Linked DNA regions of Homo sapiens: all the other regions are linked to region 1. Evidence: promoter capture Hi-C in human tissues and cell types (Jung and others, 2019). All regions are on one chromosome and are shown on one strand. Each heading gives the region's core, a stretch centred on a gene start or on the middle of the fragment in contact. The rest is flanking DNA. Distances are from core to core; before and after follow the strand shown. Region 1 holds the start of SPATA3 (spermatogenesis associated 3). Region 2 overlaps NCL (nucleolin). Region 3 holds the start of LOC124907997 (a long non-coding RNA gene).

The links. The method cuts DNA at HindIII sites, captures the fragments that hold promoters and counts their contacts. A contact is called where the count stands out against the background at its distance.
Region 2: a contact is called between a fragment that was not itself captured here and the fragment with the promoter of SPATA3 in region 1, in 1 of the 25 tissues and cell types used here (lymphoblastoid cells).
Region 3: a fragment that was not itself captured here is called in contact with the fragment with the promoter of SPATA3 in region 1 in 1 of the 25 tissues and cell types used here (lymphoblastoid cells).

Annotation. Positions count from the first base shown.
Region 1 is chr2:230,994,211-230,997,753 of GRCh38, reverse strand. It overlaps SPATA3 (spermatogenesis associated 3), which reads right to left and starts at 1,633. Exons shown (of 5, transcript NM_139073.5): 1 at 1,220-1,633. The coding sequence starts at 1,520. It overlaps SPATA3-AS1 (SPATA3 antisense RNA 1), which reads left to right and starts at 1,722. Exons shown (of 6, transcript NR_033879.1): 1 at 1,722-1,906; 2 at 2,369-2,477. RefSeq lists an enhancer at 1,589-2,122. The HindIII fragment of the contact is 25,386 bases long and covers 1-3,543 here.
Region 2 is chr2:231,456,657-231,460,199 of GRCh38, reverse strand. NCL (nucleolin) reads left to right here. Exons shown (of 14, transcript NM_005381.3): 6 at 1-48; 7 at 1,075-1,199; 8 at 1,811-1,934; 9 at 2,400-2,557; 10 at 3,076-3,199; 11 at 3,436-3,543. Among named protein-coding and RNA genes, the nearest start is that of SNORD20, 1.9 kb to the right of the region's middle. The HindIII fragment of the contact is 5,287 bases long and covers 1-3,543 here.
Region 3 is chr2:231,410,760-231,414,302 of GRCh38, reverse strand. LOC124907997 (a long non-coding RNA gene) reads right to left here and starts at 2,007. Exons shown (of 2, transcript XR_007088118.1): 1 at 1,378-2,007; 2 at 1-327. RefSeq lists enhancers at 1-590, 2,685-3,289, 3,290-3,543 and a silencer at 1,801-2,140. The HindIII fragment of the contact is 6,575 bases long and covers 1-3,543 here.

The DNA of each region.
Region 1 (3,543 bases), core at 384-2,883:
CCTCTACACAATCCAATGCTTATACAGACACTGTTTGGCTCCCAAGAAGACAGGGAACCACTTTTCCTGACAGCCATTCCATTTTCAGACAGAGCTAATTGTTGGGAAGTTTTTTATGTTGAGCCGAAGGCTTTCTGTCACTAATGTCTTCCATGGGTAAGATTGCTAATTTAGCAAATAAAAATATAGGATGCCCATGCAATACTGGGGACACACATACTAAAAATATTATTTGTTGTTTACTAAAATTAAAATTTAACTGAGAGTCTTGTATTTTGTCTGGCTATCCTATCCATGGGCCTGTATTTGTCTGTTTTCACACTGCTGATAAAGACATATCTGAGACTAGGCAATTTACAAAAGAAAGAGGTTTGTGGAACTTACAGTTCCACGTGGCTGGGGAGGCCTCACAATCATGGTGGAAGGTGAAAGGCACATCTCACATGGCGGCAGACAAGAGAAGAGAGTTTGTGCAGGGAAACTCCCTTTTTTAAAACCATTAGATCTCATGAAACTTATTCACTATCACGAGAACACCACGGAAAAGACCCTCCCCCGTGATTCAATCACTTCCCACTGGGTCCTTCCTACAACACCTGGGAATTCAAGAAGAGATTTGGGTGGGGACACAGCCAAACCACATCAGACCCTTAGATCTCTGAGGACAATAAGGAACAAGTCTATTCACATCTTCCACTTGACAGACAGACATCCTCCAATTCCTTCAATTGACTGTCATACACTAAATGGTCTCCCTGATCCTTCTCATCCTCCATCAACCCAGACTATCTTCCTTGGACTAGTTTGTCAGGCATCTTTTACAGCCCAAAAGGATAGCTTGATGAGGACAGAATAAAGCAGTATCATCACCTCCCTTATTCTAAACCATATACTTCTATAAATGCATCCTTGGTTTTTATTTTTTAGCAGTTGCATGGCACTGCTGATTCCTAGTGAGCAAGTATTACTATGGAACCAAGTTAAATGTTTATATGTATGTGTGGCTGTCTTCAGTGAGACTCAGGATGATGAGAAATGACAAAACCCAGGAATCCTGGTCTCTTGGGTAGAAACAAAAACAAAAACCTTCCCACTCTACAGCACAGCTCCAGGATACACGTTAACCATGCATCACTATCCTACAAGAACCAGCCTTTGGGATGACCCAGAACTCCATCAGCAGGAAGGCTGGAACTGCTGAAGCTAGAAGACAGCCCACCTGCTTTCCTGGATTGAGGGGCTGCCTTCACGTTAGCATCTGGAGATAAAAGGCAGCAAGAGGAGCGGCGGATTTCGGGTGCTGGAAGGGCTTGGAATGCTGGCTGCCGGGAGGTGGTTTCAAGGCTGGAATGCTGTGGTGTGGATTCAGGGCTAGGCTGCTGTGGTGTGGATTCAGGACTAGGCTGCTGTGGTGTGGATTCAGGGCTAGGCTGCTGAGAGGTGGAATTGGAGCTAGCATGCTGGGAGGTGGAGTCTCGGTGGCGTCTGGCCTCTGACCTTTTCTTCTTGACCTTCTTCATGGTAGATCCTCCCAACCTAAACGTGGACCTACATGGAGCTGCGTAATCTCCCGGCTCCCTCCTGGAGGGGCCGTTTGCCCTCTGCCCTAGGAGCCTGGCTTGGGCCTCCAGCTGGACCCAGGCCCCACAGAGAACAGTGACCCACACCTCCTGTGAGGTCATAAAAGCCAGGGTGGCTCCTATGGCAGGGCTTCAAGGGACAGTCTTCTCTGCAGACACCAGCCTGGTGTCCTCCTTCATCCCAGGCTGCCAGGCTAGGCAGGGGACAGCGGCTGCCCTGGTCCTCACAGCCCTGGCTACGGGGCTGGTGACAGCCAGATCCTCATGCTTCTGCGACCTGAGCGCTGCCTTCAGACACCTCTCTGCTGGCGTGTTCCTGGGTCCATGTGAGCTACCTGTTTTGCTCTAAGATACCCTGGATGTGACGCTCAGCTCTGTCACTGGCTTCCACATACCCCCTACTCCTACACCTCAAAAATCCATGTTCCCCACGCATTCATCTTCAGGTCAGCTTCCTGAAGATTTGGAGCTTCTTCGAAGGCTTTACCATGGCCCAGAGCCTGCTACCATCTCAGAGTAGCTTACCCCTTCCCCCAAAGCCTGCCCTCCCGCACTGTGGGAGGGGAGTTTGGGGGTTGACTTGACTTTTATAAGAACCTTTGCATTTGGCAGATAATTTTCCCTGAGAACATAACAGCTGTTCAGAAAACTAACATTTGTCTCAAACTCATGGCAATGGCAACCACAGACTATCTCCCAAACCCCAATTGGTTGGGTTAAACAGGTGACTGAATCTTTCTCTAGATTAATTAATTTAATGTGCTCATTAAATGTGATTTTTGTTTTAGGATGGAAGAAGGAAAAGTATTTTTAAAAGACAATCTGAAGCTCATACTGTGACTGCAACATAAAATGTGTTCACCTGAGGAGACTGCTTTCATCGCCAGTGTGTCACAGGTGGGTGAGTGTGGGACTGGCAAGCGCAGGAGCTCCTGCCCCAGCGGAAGGTTTAGAGCAGACCTATGCAGATAAAAAGGGCTTCGGTCACGCCTGTAATCCCAGCACTTTGGGAGGCTGAGGCGGGCAGATCACGAGGTCAGGAGATTGAGACCATCCTGGCTGACATGGTGAAACCCCGTCTCTACTAAAAATACAAAAAATTAGCCGGGCGTGGTGGTGGGTGCCTGTAGTCCCAGCTACTCGGCAGGAGAATGGCGTGAACCTTGGAGGTGGAGCTTTCAGTGAGCCGAGATCGTGCCACTGCACTCCAGCCTGGGCGACAGAGCGAGACTCTGTCTTAAAAAAAAATGGGGGGCTTTGGGCCACACAAAGCCAGACCCAACATGAACTCTGAAATGACAGGACATAGTTTAGGGCTTCTAGAGCCTAAAAATACCTTAATGATGACCTTTCCTCAGAACACTGAGGTTTAGCGAAATTAAGTTACTTTCCCAGGGTCACACAGCTGGCTGGGGGCATCGGAAGGACTAAATTCCAGTTTGGGGCTCATTATTTTCATGATCCCAGAAAACAATAGGGAGTCAGATAATTATACAGGCTTTGAAATAATGAATTAAAAAGTCCCCCAGTGGCCTGGTGCGGTGGCTCACGCCTATAATCCCAGCACTTTGGGAGGCTGAGGCGGGCAGATCATGAGGTCAAGAGATTGAGACCATCCTGGCCAACCAACATGGTGAAAACCTGTCTCTACTAAAAATACAAAAATTAGCTGGGCATGGTGGTGCACGCCTGTAGTCCCAGGTACTCAGGAGGCTGAGGCAGGAGAATCACTTGAACCTGTGAGGCGGAGGTTGTGGTGAGCCGAGATTGTGCCACTGCACTCCAGCCTGACGACAGAGTGAGACTCGTCTCAAAAAAAAAAAAAAGGTCCCTGAGCGAGAAGATTGAAGAAAACAAAGGCAGGAAGGATCAGAAGTGAAGGCAAGCTCAGCTCAAGAGTATTGGGTTGTGTTTGGTTGACCTTGGCCTAAGGAGGCTCTGGGAGCAAGTGAATCTGTATGAA
Region 2 (3,543 bases), core at 1,027-3,526, 460 kb before region 1:
TGCTAAAAATGATCTTGCTGTTGTGGATGTCAGAATTGGTATGACTAGGTAAGTGCTTCACTGCACGTTACATACACGTGGGTCTGTTAATGCTTTTCCTTCCCCTGTTAGCACAGTTACTTTAGCCTGCTACTGTTAAACATGAATACTGTAAACATCTTCAAGGATTAGCATTAGTGAACTAAGTTAGAATTAAACTGTAGATCCCCTAAGTTGCAATTTCCATAATCAGTCGTAACTTGGTATAGCACAGAATAATTTTTAGTAAGTTTTTTTGTTGTTTTTGTTATGTATTGAGACGGACGCTGGCTTTTGCTCAGGCTGGAGTACAGTGGCGCAATCTTGGCTCACTGCAACCTCTGCCTCCCGGGTTCAAGCGATTCTCCTGCCTAAGCCTCCCAAGTAGCTGGGATTACGGGTGCACTTCACCATGCCTGGCTAATTTTTGTATTTTTAGTTGAGATGGCATTTCACCATGTTGGTCAGGCTGGTTTTGAACTCCTGACCTCAAGTGATCCACCCACCTCGGCCTCTCGAAGTGCTGGGATTACAGGCGTGAGCCACCCTGCCAGTAAGTTTTAATAATTTGGTGTTAGGTGGGAGAATCGCTTGAACCTGGGAGGCAGAGGTTGCAGTGAGCCAAGTTCGCGCCACTGTACTCCAGCCTGGGCAACAGATTGAGACACCGTCTCAATTTAAAATAATGTTTATTTTCTTGGAAGTACCTGAAACTATTAGACCTGTCTAGTCATCATAGTGAATACTTTTATCCAGACAGGATTCTCCTGTATTAGTGCTTATAGGTGTTCTTTTGTCAGCTGCTACTGTGAATTCTTATAAGCAATTTAGCTCCATGATGAAGACCTCAAACGTGAATGTGCATGTCATATCTTCATGCTGAGACCTTGTTCTGTAGCTGCAGTTTGCAGAGCCTTGACTTTGTTTTGCTAATACTAGGGGTGCTTTTTAAAATGTGATCTTTGTTTGCACCATCACATTTGTCTAGAATACATATTGTGGATTTTGATTTGTGTTTTCACCTGTTGTAATTTTGCCCTCCTCTCCACCTTGAAGGAAATTTGGTTATGTGGATTTTGAATCTGCTGAAGACCTGGAGAAAGCGTTGGAACTCACTGGTTTGAAAGTCTTTGGCAATGAAATTAAACTAGAGAAACCAAAAGGAAAAGACAGTAAGAAAGGTATGTAAGGCTTTATGAGATTATGCAATGAACTCAGGAGCTAGACTGCTAGGGAAAATGCTTTGTAACCCATTTCCCTTGGTTTCCTCTTATTTTTTTAAATCATTTTTTTCCTTTGGTTTCCTCTTAATGTGGGAATTAAATGAGCTACAGTGTTTACAAGAGTACTTGGCACTGCTTGTCAGTGTTATAGTGTAAATTCCTGAGTTAGGCAAGCAAGAGCACTTTTATACAGAACAAGAATTATTAGATGCACCTAAATTAACGTAAAGGGATCTTTCTTCACTGAAACTAGATTAGGTCCCTAATTACTCCCTATATACAGTTGTAATGTTTTGAATTGGTACATTCACTTTTTTTGTTATGCGCGTCTACTCTAGGTTGAACTCCAGTGTACCTAACAGAGAGTTTGACATCAGCTGTGACAACATGGAGGGACCACTTGTGTGTTGACACTGCTATATCTCCATATTTAGCACCGAGCCTTGTACATTATAGGATCTCAAATTATTTGTTGAATAGAGCTATGTGTGTTTTTCCCCTCTTTTTGTTGTTGCCCCCCACCTTTGGTTTTTCAGGCCACAGAGCTCATTTTTGTTTTTTTAATCTAGAGCGAGATGCGAGAACACTTTTGGCTAAAAATCTCCCTTACAAAGTCACTCAGGATGAATTGAAAGAAGTGTTTGAAGATGCTGCGGAGATCAGATTAGTCAGCAAGGATGGGAAAAGTAAAGGGTATGTTCTGTCTATTGAAATGTAAGGGTTTTATTAACATTAATGCACTTTCCTGCTTTATAAAAGAAATATTGGTTTGATTTCCTTAGGCGTGTAATCTTGGACAGTTTAACCTGTAAGTTTGTGCCTCAGTAACCCATCTGTACCATGGGGATAATGTACTCATAGGGTGATTTTAAAAGACAAGCTAATACTTACAAAGAAGCAAGAAATGTGCCTATCTTACAATAAATACTTTGTAAGTAGTAGCAGTTCTTTCAGTGAGGTGAGGTTACTATGAAAAAATTCCAAGTATTTGTAAAACTAGTGGGAAGTAAGAGGGAAGCTCGAGTTTTGATTGAAAAGTGGCATAAAACTAAGGGCATTTATTGTACTCAGATCTGAAGCAAGTTCTGTGTTGCTGAGGTAAAAGCATTTGTGTTAATATGGTTTTAAAAACCATGAGTTCTTCTCCCTCCATTGCAGGATTGCTTATATTGAATTTAAGACAGAAGCTGATGCAGAGAAAACCTTTGAAGAAAAGCAGGGAACAGAGATCGATGGGCGATCTATTTCCCTGTACTATACTGGAGAGAAAGGTCAAAATCAAGACTATAGAGGTGGAAAGAATAGCACTTGGAGTGGTAAGAAATTAGGCTTGTTACAAGGTTTCAGAATTGGTGGAGGGAACTCCTTTGTGTCTTTGTATTTCATAAGTTTATAAATACTTTTTAATCAAAGTTACTCAAATGTAGGTGAAGATCAAGGACATGATACCCCAAGTCATACTCTTATTTGGAATAGTAATTTCCAATCTTGAATGAGAGCTCTAAAATCATTTTGCATTGGAATACAGTAGGCAAATCAAGCTTCCTTTGTAGGCATGTTTTATACTTTAAATGACTTGACCATGTGCGTTTTGAACTCAGATGATTCTAGGAAAACAGACCAGTCATCAGCCTATGTAAGAACAACCAGCAGGACATTGCAACACGTACTAGGTACTTAATATGTTGAGTAACAGAAATGGATTTAGCTTACGTCATGAGTATTTGTATATTAACTCAAGCACTGAAATTCTTAGGAATAAGATATTACTGTTGTGACCGAAGCTGGGAACCACTGTTTCAGAGTCTTAGGAATGTGGCATCTCTATTTGCAGGTGAATCAAAAACTCTGGTTTTAAGCAACCTCTCCTACAGTGCAACAGAAGAAACTCTTCAGGAAGTATTTGAGAAAGCAACTTTTATCAAAGTACCCCAGAACCAAAATGGCAAATCTAAAGGGTAAGATAATACCTTTGTATCATCAGTTATAGGCTATATATGTCTTAGAGGTCTAAAGGAACGTAAGGTCATGTGATCCTGTCAGAAAAGCCAAATAATTTTAGCTACGTAAATGAGTGTAAAATAAAGATCATCATTTAGGTACCAACTTGAGAGAAGGGGCTTGGCAGCATCATGTGACAGTGAAGGAGCATGTGCCTGGTAACTTACTCTAAGCATTAACTGTTCATCCTCAGGTATGCATTTATAGAGTTTGCTTCATTCGAAGACGCTAAAGAAGCTTTAAATTCCTGTAATAAAAGGGAAATTGAGGGCAGAGCAATCAGGCTGGAGTTGCAAGGACC
Region 3 (3,543 bases), core at 625-3,124, 420 kb before region 1:
GTATCTTATCTACTGGATAATTGAGTTGGTGCCTTCCCAGGCAGAAATAACTTGTAAAAGTGGCCAAGCGGGAATGCTTTCGACATACCCTCCTGGAGGATGAAGGTCACTTCCAGTTTGCAGAGCAGAAGTTCTAAGGTCACCCCATGGAGGTAAAAGTTCCGTGGCAGGTACGCTTCAGTCTGGAAATCAACTGTCAGCAAATCGACTGTCAGCTCTCAAGGAAAAGATCTGTCTTGGAGCCGTTGAAGAAATTGCCCTGAAGGGAATTACCCTGAAGGGAATGTCTAGGGGGAGGTGAACGGTTACATTTGCATTTCTGAAGGGCTGAGTAGGAAACGGGAAGGAGGGAAAGGGGAGAGAATAGAAAATAATAATTAAAAAAAAAGTAATTCATTCCGTTTTTCTTAGAAAAAATGGGAGCATTTGGTTACAAAAATACATAAAATCTAGCAAGAAACATTCGACTAGGTCTGCGGGAGCTGAGCTATCTGAGCTGAGCCTGGCCTCCCCATCAGCGCTTAGCAAATTGCAGGTGGTCTTAACAAATTGCAGGCAGTCATGGTGGACAGGCAGCTGTTTCCAGACTTGCCTCCATCCTCCAGACCCTAGCACGTGTCTGAGTGGTGGCTAACATGCAGCTTTTGCAGTCAGGCCACCTGAGAGCAATCTCAACCTGCCCCTTTCCAGCTAGGCAGCTCCAGTATGGGGAGTGGCTGTTTTATATTTCTGTCCTGCATCAGCCCCTGAGGCAGGCATCCCTGTACTTTCACTTCTGTGAGCCCACACATCTCCTTGCTGGTCGCAACCAGTTCGAGCAGACTTTCTTTTTTCCTTTTCTTTCCTTCTTTTTATTATTATTATTTTTTTTGAGACAGGGTCTCATTCTGTCACCCAGGCTGGAGTGCATGGGCACTGTAACCTCAACCTCCCAGGATCCTCCCATCTCAGCTCCCCTCCGCAACCCTCAGTGGCTGGGACTACAGGTGCTCATGCCACCATGCCTGGCTGATTTTTGTACTTTTTTGTAGAGGTGGTGTTTCACCATGTTGCCAGGCTGGTCTCAAACTCCTGAGCTCAAGCGATCTGCCCATCTAGGCCTCTTAAAGTGCTGGGGTTACAGGTGCGAGCCACCAAGCCCAACTGAGCAGAATCTCATGTCACTTGAAACCAAACATATCCTTACCATCGTTGGCTTTATATATTAAGATTTTATGAAAAAATGATTATTGTGTCATTTGTCTATGAGATCAGATACTAAACAATTAGAACAGCAAACTGTATCCTGCTATCCAAGGCCTTAGTTCTGACCTCACCAGGCCTCTGAGGGTGGGCCCCCAGTAGGGATTTTTGAGGTCCTGAAGGGGCTGCACTCACCTCCCTGGCCGGTGAAACAAGATCATTTCTCCTTCCCTGGTAGAGGCCCCTAAGGTGGCCCTGAGGGTCTCGAAGCCCCCTCACTCCCTCCGAGGCTGTCGGGATCTCGCACATTTCTCCTAAGCCTCAGGCCTGAGCTTGGTGGAAAGGCTCACGGAGGAAAGTCTTCCTTACACAGATGAGCCAGAGAAAGGAACGAGCAGCCCCTGGAATCTCAGTGCCAGGAAGCAGTTCCTGTTAACAGCTTGGTGTGGCGCTTTCCAGCTTAAATCCGCATAAAAAAGATGCCTTGGGGTACAAGTAATGGAGTTCCAGATTTCACACAACCTGCTCAAATCGTGCAGTCTCCCATCCACCTCAGCGTCACGATGCCCCCGGCGGTCAGTTGGGGGCGCTCCCTGCCCTCTTCTGGGATTGCCAGGGCGGGGACTCACCCAGCCCTCCAGCCCGGCCAGCCCCTTGCTCCTCGCGGGGCCCCGCCCCGACCCGCGGCCCTGCAGCCGGCACTGGGAGGTCTACGCCGCCTTACCCCACGCCTCGCGCAGCTCCGCGGGCTGGTCTCGAGGGGAGATGCCCTCGCTCGGGGCGCGCACCGGGTGGCGCCGAGATGCCCACCTCCTCCGCAGGCCCCCGGGATCCATCGGATGCCACCCCCACCACACACACAGGGCTCCCCCACCCTCGACAGCCGAACGCGTTGTCCCCTGCACAGCCCAGGCGGGTTCCGCGAGGGGCTCTGGGTCGCACCGCGCCCCGGGACGCCCGCGCCCACCCAGCAGCTCCTGGCTGCCCGGCGACGAGGAGCCGCGGGGGGCAGGCGGAGCCCGAGGGGGGCAGCTTCGCCATGGGTGAGGGCAGGGATTCCACGCATTCCTGTGGGATTCGGCCGCACCGAGGAAAAACAAAGCCAAGGTGATTTGTGATAGGTCACAGGCTGCACGGCAGGGTCAGTCAATCCCAGCCCAGGCCGGTAGTTCCCAACTTGAGTCACCTGGGAGCGATAAAAAATGCCTGGGCTCGCGCCCCACCCACTCACTCATTCGGATTCATTCTGTCTGGTTGCGATCTGGACTAGATATTTTCTCAAATTCCCGGGGGGCAAAACCCTCTAAAAGGATTGAGCTCTAAGCTTTGGCTCACTTTGGAAGGGTCTTCAGTGAGTATACAATGTATTCCAAGATTCAAGTTTTGTTTTAGAAATATAAGCAAAAATTGCATTCTGTTCGATAATGTATCTGTGTTCATTTTCACATAAAGGCAATTGGTAAAAGACAATTTTCAGAAAAAGGTAGATTCATGACCCTTGTTCAGAAATAAAAAATGAGCATGTATTAAAGATTTATTTTACTCATAAAAAGGACAAGGTAGATGTTATATCTGGTTCAAAGGAGACATCAAAAAGCACAAATTTATATGGAGTGAAGGAATTGAATTGCAAACAGCGGCAAACTGGTTTTTCCACCGTGGGGGTGTTGGTGGGGGGTGGAAGAGAAGTCAATGGAAGCTTCACCTGACAAGACAGTTTGCAAAGCCCTCAGTACTTGCAACTTAAAAAGAGGTGCAAAATAGCTCAAAGACCGTGAATGGGGCTGGAAGCAGACAGGTCTGGCTGTGCTTTAGATAATGTATAGTGTTTCACTGGAACAGAAAAGTTTTTCTTCACAATAGCTTAAATAACTCTCTGGAAACATTTATTTCTTACAGCCCTAATAACGCTGGGCTCCCCCAACCATCACAGTTTCAATCGCTCATTGGACATAACATTTTCCTCCTTTTAGACAGAAACAACAAACACAGATATTTGTGACTAAGTTACTGCTAAGGAAAAAGGATGGGAGGCTGGAGGCTCTTGGGAGACAGTAGAGTATGGGGGTTAGGTGTGCAGGGCACAGAGTTCAAATCGTGCCTGTCACACAATAGCCGTGGGATCCTTCTCTTAGAGCCCTCCATTTCTTACTTTGAACATGGTGTATAACAGGATTCCAGAAGCTTCCCCCTGCTCCTTCTCAGTTTAGGTGCACAGAATAAGTCACCTAGGAACAGCTTTCTTTGTTAAGAGTAGGATTCTTTGAGTGGTCTCCTTTAGTTATGTAAATGTGGCTGAGTAGGCACCCATTACCCTGGGGGAAGAGTGGAACTGGACTTTTTGAGGACTGACAAAGGCTA